Linked DNA regions of Homo sapiens: region 2 is linked to region 1. The links are contacts of gene promoters, found by promoter capture Hi-C in blood cells and fetal thymus (Javierre and others, 2016). All regions are on one chromosome and are shown on one strand. Each heading gives the region's core, a stretch centred on a gene start or on the middle of the fragment in contact. The rest is flanking DNA. Distances are from core to core; before and after follow the strand shown.

The links. Contacts are between HindIII fragments. The CHiCAGO score rates a contact against its expected background, and 5 or more counts as called.
Region 2: a fragment that was not itself captured here is called in contact with the fragment with the promoter of HAUS1 in region 1 in 2 of 17 cell types (non-activated CD4 T cells and naive CD4 T cells); the score reaches 7.6 in non-activated CD4 T cells.

Annotation. Positions count from the first base shown.
Region 1 is chr18:46,102,654-46,106,557 of GRCh38, reverse strand. It overlaps HAUS1 (HAUS augmin like complex subunit 1), which reads right to left and starts at 2,173. Exons shown (of 9, transcript NM_138443.4): 1 at 2,117-2,173; 2 at 1,190-1,364. The coding sequence starts at 2,146. It also overlaps a transcript of ATP5F1A not described here. RefSeq lists an enhancer at 1,769-1,858 and a silencer at 2,249-2,348. The HindIII fragment of the contact is 1,925 bases long and covers 1,659-3,583 here.
Region 2 is chr18:46,653,215-46,656,975 of GRCh38, reverse strand. It overlaps LOXHD1 (lipoxygenase homology PLAT domains 1), which reads left to right. Exons shown (of 41, transcript NM_001384474.1): 1 at 1-72. Among named protein-coding and RNA genes, the nearest start is that of LOXHD1, 2.1 kb to the left of the region's middle. The HindIII fragment of the contact is 2,054 bases long and covers 1,146-3,199 here.

The DNA of each region.
Region 1 (3,904 bases), core at 924-3,423:
ATTTTTGTCAATCTTTACTTTTGTGGTTTGTATTATCAAAACAATAGGCATCTTGAATGCACTTTTTCTTTTTTTCTTTTTTTTTTTTTGAGACGGAGTCTTGCTCTGTCGCCCAGGCTGGAGTGCAGTGGTGCGATCTCGGCTCACTGCAAGCTCCGCCTCCTGGGATCACGCCATTCTCCGGCCTCAGCCTTCCGAGCAGCTGGAACTACAGGCGCCCGCCACCACGCCCGGCTAATTTTTGTATTTTTAGTAGAGACGGTGTTTCACCGTGTTAGCCAGGATGGTCTTGATCTCCTGACCTTGTGATCCGCCCGCCTCGGCCTCCCAAAGTGCTGGGATTACAGGCGTAAGCCACCGTGCCCGGCCTTGAATGCACTTTTTCAAACTATATATGCCCAGCAGAAAATTCTAATGCAATCTCCTGATACGTAGTCATAGAGTAATTTCGTCCAAGTCTCACATTTCATGGCCACCACCTCAGGTGTCCTGATAGGTCCGTATGACTAAATCATGGAGACCGGAAACAGAAAAAACAGATAGGTAAGTAAAAAACCACAAGGCATCTTGTGTGTCAGACTAACAAGTTTAGACTCTTTTAAGGCTTACTGTTTTGCTATCAGAGTACCAATAAGATATTTAGTATAATAACATTTATTACTTAGAGAATTACTACTGGCCAGGCAGGGTGGCTCATGCCTCTAATCCTACCACTTTGGGAGGCTGAGGCAGGCGGATCACCTGAAGTCAGGAGTTCGAGACCAGCCTGGCCAATATTGTGAAACCCTGTCTTTACTAAAACACAAAAATTAGCCGGGTGTGGTGGTGCAGGCCTGTAGTCCCAGCTACTTGGGAGGCTGAGGCATGAGAATCACTTGAACCCAGGAGATGGAGGTTGCAGTGAGCTGAGATCACACCACTGCACTCCAGCCTGGGCGACAGAGCAAGATTGTCTAAAATATATACACACACACACACACACACACACACACACACACACACACACATACATATACATATATATAAACATAAAACAATAAAGTTACTACTATAACAGAGTGGAAGAAAATCTGGGAAAAATAAAGGAGCAAAACAAGTAGTCTACAGTAAATTAATCCTGTATACTTTAGTGTTATAAAATTTGGTTACCTCTATTTATTCTCGTTCAAAACTCTGGACTTAATCTCACCTTCTGACTCGTATTCACTTGCTTTCTGCTTCAAGTCCTCTATTACCAGGTAGACATCCCTGTCCCGGACCCTGTTGCGTTCTGAAAGGTGATGTAAAATCTCTGTGGTCCGTGGGTTCACCTCATACTGTGGAATAGGATGATCTCCAAATATTTTTTTTAACCACGCAGCAACCTAACCATTAAAAGAAAGACAAATATTATAAGCCTTGTTTACTGTAATGGCTCGATGAGAATATGACAAAGAAGTGATCAAAAGCAAACTAAATGCTTTCTGTGACTATTTTGGAGTCCTACTTCACAACCTCACTTGTCTTTAGGGAGATACTAGATATCAGGAAATAAAAAGTGAGCAAGTACACAAAGAAACGTACAATACTGAAAATTACCAGAGAACAATCCGTTCTTTTCCAAATCTGCAAAAGCGGTACAGGCTAACAATTTGCCTCGCTTGAAAAACCTTAAAGCTTAATAGACCATAATAATGCGAACGCATTATTAGACCGTGCATGGTCTGAAAAAAGCAATTGTCCCTCGATCACCAGAAGCCCCGCCGCGCCGGGAGGCTCCCAGTGTTGGGATGCAGGGCGCGGAAGCAGTTCAGATGTGGAAGCCGCCGGGCTGAGCAGCGAACCGGAAGGCGGGTTTGGCTTCATAAGTCCCACTCCAGAGTCTGTGGACACGGGCTGCTCAACGCCTCTCCCGGGCCAGATCCAAACAAGGGGAGGCCCGGGCAGGAAGGGAAAGGCCTTCAGGAGAGTCTAAGCACGGGGGGCTTGCAGATAGTGACGGCGGCACTAAAAGACGGATGTGTGGAATAGGGGAGAGAAAAGTAGACGTGGCGCGCACAGGAGACCCGCTGTCGGCGCGGGGGTGTCAAAAACGCGTTTTCCAGGAGGCCAACGATCCCCATTCCCGCCCCATCACCTGCGTTTCTCTCTCCTCCTGCGGCTCCATAGCTGCGGCTCCCGCCACTTTACTAGGAACTCCTAGCGGGAGATGCGCCCCGCTCACTCCCTAGGCCCCGCCCACACGCCGTTGGCACCCGCCCCTCGCCGGGCCCGGGATTTCTGGGAGTTGTGGTTTTACCTGAGACTCCTGGCCGTTGAGCCCCTGTGCAAGGCTGGTCGAAGGCTCTGGCATTGCAAGCCTCGCTTCGTTGCCACTTCCCAGCTCTTCCCGCCTTCCGCGGTATAATCAACACTACGAGAGATAGAGCCGCCTAGAACCAGGTTGTTTTTTCTTTCTTTTATTTTTATTTCTTGTTTGAATCACTTGTCGTTAAAAAAAAGTACTTGAAACGTTTGGTTCTTGCTTAGCAAGATGTTTGTGTTTCTTCCACATTGATTGCATCCACTCAGAATTTATATTCTACCCTGGCAATATGAGCTGAGGCAATCTTAACTTGATCCGTTAGTTCCCCCAACCTAAAAACTAGGGACATTTTTTTTTTTTGAGACAGAGTCTCGCTTTGTCGCCCAGGCTGGAGTGCAGTGGCATGATCTCGGCTCACTGCAACCTCTGCCTCCTGGGTTCAAGCGATTCTTCTGTCTCAGCCTCCCAAGTAGCTGGGACTACGGGCAAGCGCCACCACGCCTGGCTAATTTTTGTGTTTTTAGTAGAGACGGGGTTTCACCATATTGGCCAGGCTGGTCTCGAACTCCTAACCTCATGATCCGCCCACCTCGGCCTCCCAAAGTGCTGGGATTACAGGCGTGAGCCAGCGCGCCCAGCTTTTTTTTTTTTTTTTTTTTTTTTGAGATGGAGTCTCTGTTGTTCAGGCTGGAGGGCAGTGGCACGATCTCGGCTCTCGGCTCTCAGCTCACTGCCACCTCTGCTTCCCGGGTTCAAGCGATTCTCCTGCCTCAGCCTTCCGAGTAGCTGGGATTACAGGTGTGCATCACCACGCCCAGCTAATTTTTTGTATCTTAGTAAAGATGGGATCTCATCAGGTTGGCCAGCTTGGTCTCGAACTCCTGACTTCAGGTGATCCGCCCGCCTTGGCCTCCCAAAGTGCTGGGATTACAGGCACTGCGCCCGACCTTTTCTTTTCTTTTTGAGATGGAGTGTTTCTCTGTCGCTTAGGCTGGAGTGCAGAGTGACATGATCTTGGCTCACTGCGACCTCCAACCCCCGTCCCCAGGCTCAAGCAATTCTCCTGTCTCATCCTCTCTAGTAGCTGGGATTACAGGCTTGTGCTAGCATGCAGGGATAATTTTTTTATTTTTAGTAGAACGGGGGGTTTCACCACGTTGATCAGGCTGGTCTCAAACTCCTGACCTCAAGTGATCTGCCTGCCTCGGCCTCTCAAAGAGCTAGGATTACAGGTGTGAGCCAACACACCCAGCCTAAAATGATTTTCTTTTCAAAGGAAACTTACTAGCAAGCCAAGCTTATTTATTATTTATTTTATTTTATTTTTAGAGACAGGGTCTTGCTCTTTCGTCCAAGCTGGAGTATAGTGGTGATCACAGTTCACTGCAACCTTGAACTCCTGGGCTCAAGCAATCCTCCCGCTTCAGCCTCCTTAGTAGCTGGGACTATAGGCGTGCACCACCACACCCAGCTAACTTTTTGTATTTTTTGTAGAAAGAGGGTCTCACTATGTTGCCCAGGCTGTTTTTGAACTCCTGGCCCCAAGTGATGCTCCCACTTGGGCCTCTCAAAGTGCTGGGATTACAAGCATGAGGCACCACACCCAGCCTGTCTTGCTTA
Region 2 (3,761 bases), core at 923-3,422, 550 kb before region 1:
AAGCGGAGCTGCTGAACTACGCCTCGGAGGACGACGAGGGGGAGCTGGAACACGAGTACTACAAGGCCAGAGGTGCGGGGTCCCAGCCTGCGGGGGGCGGGTGGTGCAGCTGGCTGCGGTGGGCAGGGGTCTGTTCCTGTCTATGGGGAGTCATTCTAAGATTTCGGAGCAAGCCCTTCCTCACTGATTATCCCATGTGTCTGTTCCATATCCCCTCGGAGTAAGAAGGCAGGCATTATGCAGGGATGGTGGGGTCCCTGTTGTACAGACAGGTGGAGCAACTTGCCTTTAGCCCCCGATTCTCAGTGGAACAGAATAGACTAGAGCCACAGTGCCCCCATGGCCCCATGTTCTCCAGCTCCTGAACATCCCCAAAGCCACGTTCCAGTCTGGTCCCCGAGTAGGTGGTCTGCATCAGGCAGAGCGCCCTGAACTGCTGGGGTCATGAAAGGATGTCTTGGGGAGGAAGCCTGACAGCTCATCCTATGCCCACTGTGGTTGATGGAGACAGGGAGCCTGGGGCTTTGCAAGGAGATGTCCATCCCATATGTCGAAGGCGGCCGGTGCTCTGGACCCCAGGGCCTTGTCCTTCTAGTCTCATCTTTCCCTGGGCCACATGAGACCTGCTTGAAATTGCTCTAACTCCTTGCCAGGTAAACCAAAGAAGTGAACTGTGACCCTAGAGCTGGTTTTGGCCAGCAGAGTTTAAGTTGTTTTTTTCCTTTCCAGCGTTTTGAAATCCTTTTTTCTGTGAATGCCAATAGGCTGTGGACGTCCAGCTTATCACAGTCTCCACCACTCCCTGTCATCTCATACTAGGTCTGGTTTACTCATCAGTGCTGCCTGCCTAGTCTCTGAAGCCATTTAAATTCTCAATGCTGACTCCAAAGTGGCTCACCAGTCCCCGTAAGCGCCATAGTCATCCATGCATTCACTCATTCATTCATTCAGCAAGTATTTATTGAATGTGTGCTCTGTGCCTGCCCATGGCCTTGTTTGTCTTCCCCTTTCTCCCTCTTCCTGTCCTCACTCTGAAAGCCCAGTTCTGATCCCATCTCTTCCATGAAGCCCTCCTTGATTCCAGTCCACCATGAGTTCCCTGATTACATCCAATTCATAATTGTTCCATTGTTTCCTGCAAAGCTTGTCCAGCTGTGTCCGGCTTGCAGCCACAGTCACCCTAAACTCCGTGAGGGTGGGGCCTTGCTGTACTTGTCTTTAGTCCTCATCATTCAGCCCCTGCACAGTCCTGGGCTTAGAGGAGGTAGTCTCAGCTGAGATCAGGAAGGCTGTGGCCCCTTTCCAGGTACAGAATCCTGGGTACCTCCAAGGGTAGAAGGGGGGGCTGTAGTAGGAGGAAGTGGGCCCAGGAAAAAGGAAGCATCCGCCACCTTCTAACAGTACATGTGCCTCAAGCTCTGACCCTCTTGTGAGGGGAGGGGCTGGGAGGTGAGACATCAGGGCAGCATCCCCACCATGTGTGCTTGGCTTCCCAGGTGATTCTCCCCAGCCACGTGACTGTTGGTGAGATCATTCTAGAACCTCTCACAGCCAGCAGCACACTGTTGACTTCTGTTTACGGGCTCTGCATGCCTCAGTGTGGCCATAATGATCGTTCTCCTTTTTATCCTTTCAGAAGCCTTTTTACTAATGTTCTCATGTTTGATCCTTAAGATCCCTGAGCACAGTCAAGGCAGGCGGATCAGCACCACTTCACAAGTTAAAGACTGAGGCCCTGAGACATTAAGTGACTTGAGCAAGGTCACAAACAGGATGGACAACAAGAACCTCAAATATCTTTTTCGAGGCAAGCGCCCCATTTCATCTCATGATGCTGCCAAATAGGATCATGCACCATGCACCAGGCACTGAGTTAAGCACTTTATTCATGTTAACTAATTTCATCTTCATGATGACACATTGCAGCAGATGTGTTATCCTTTTTTTTCAGATGAGGAATCTGAAGCACAGAGAAGTTAAGTAACTTGCCCAAGATCACACAGCTAGCAAATAGCAGAGTTAGGATTTGAATCCAGCTGGTCTGGCTGGTCCTTGGTCTTGTACTGCCCGATTTTGACTGTGGTAAAAATAGCTGGAGAAGAGCAAGTGGAGGTGGGTGCCACGCTGACATTTCTAAGGGAACCATGGATTCTCCTGTCTGTTGCAGGGTACTGCCTATAAATGTGGATGATGCTAACGGTGGTCACATGCTGAGCTCCAGCTGTACTGTCATTGTCACCCTCTCAGTGCTAGAACAACGGTTCCCCCACTTCCTTTGAACTCTGGGCTCTGGTGTTACGTGGAGAGTCTTGATGAGTGTGATGGGGAGGAAGAAGGAGGGAAGAAAAGCCTAGGTGTTCCTTCTCTCTTCTTAGGCTACCTTCTGGCTACCCTGGGATTCCCCAATAACCAGAGGGAGGAGAGCAGCTCCCTCAATGCTTTGAGGGCAGGCTGAACGTGGCACATTGCTCTCTCTCCTAAGACAGGGCCCATGATGGGAAGAATAACTCATTCCAGAACTGGAGAGTAGAAGGGGGCCTCAGAGGCCACCCTGCACAGGCTTCCAGCCCCGGAGGCATCTCCTCTCCTGCATCCTAGACAGGAGTCCCCCAGCATCTGTTGGGATGCAATTTTCCAAGGCAGCTTCCTTGGGGATGTTGTCAATGGAAATGATAGCAATGATTTCTCTCTTAGTCCATTGGTGCTGCTATGCCAGAATACCTGAGACTGGTGATTTATAAAGAACATATTTTTTTTTCTTCCTCAAAAATTCTGGAGGCTGAGAAGTCCAAGATCAAGGTGCCAGTATCTGGTGAGAACTTTCTTGCTGTGTTCCCACATGGCAATAGGCAGAAGGACAAGCCCCTTTATAACGGCACCCAATCCCTTTCACGAGGGGGAAGCTCTCATGGCCTAATCACCTCTTAAAGGCCCCACCCCTTAATACTATCACAATGGCAACACCTGAATTTTGGAGGGGACATATTCAAACTATAGCAATGGTGATGATGATGATAGTAACCACTTATGAAATGCCTATCTTTTCATGCAACTGTGGAAGAATGCCTATAAGGTAAATTCCCAGAAATGTAACTTCTAGGTCAATGAGTTTAAGAGTTGAAAGCTATTTTACTTAATCCTTATCACAGTCCTTCAAGGAAGAATTTATTCCTACTTCAGAGATGAGGAAATTGAAGCTTAGTAAACCATTTGGTTGAAATCACATAGCCAATAATGGTAGAACTGGGCTTCAAATCCTGGTCAGTTTTGTTCCATATTTATTCATTGATTGTTTCATTCATTCATATGATCATTCATCCAGATAATTATTTGACTGTCTCTCATGTGCTGGGCTGTTGCTAAGAGCAACAGATTGACAATTGTTTGTGCTGACTTGGAAACTTTATTAGTGGGGGTCTTCCCATCTGGAGTTCAACAGAATTCTGTGTCCTCCACAAGGTATCTGTCTTCTACAAGATAGTTCTTCAGTTATTTGAATTGAGTTTTTCTTTAAGTTAAAATTTTAAACTTGAGCAATATTGTATATACAGAACAAAACTTATGAAGGTACGTTTACATATGCACATGCCTGTGCAACCAGTATTCAGATCAGAATATGAAATATTTCCAGCCCCCAGAATGCTCCTTCACACCCCTTCTCAGAGGCGACAAATCTCCCGATTCTGTCATCATAGATTAGTCTTTTTCCTGTTCTTAAACTTTTTTTTTGAGATGGAGTCTCGCTCTGTCACCCAGGCTGG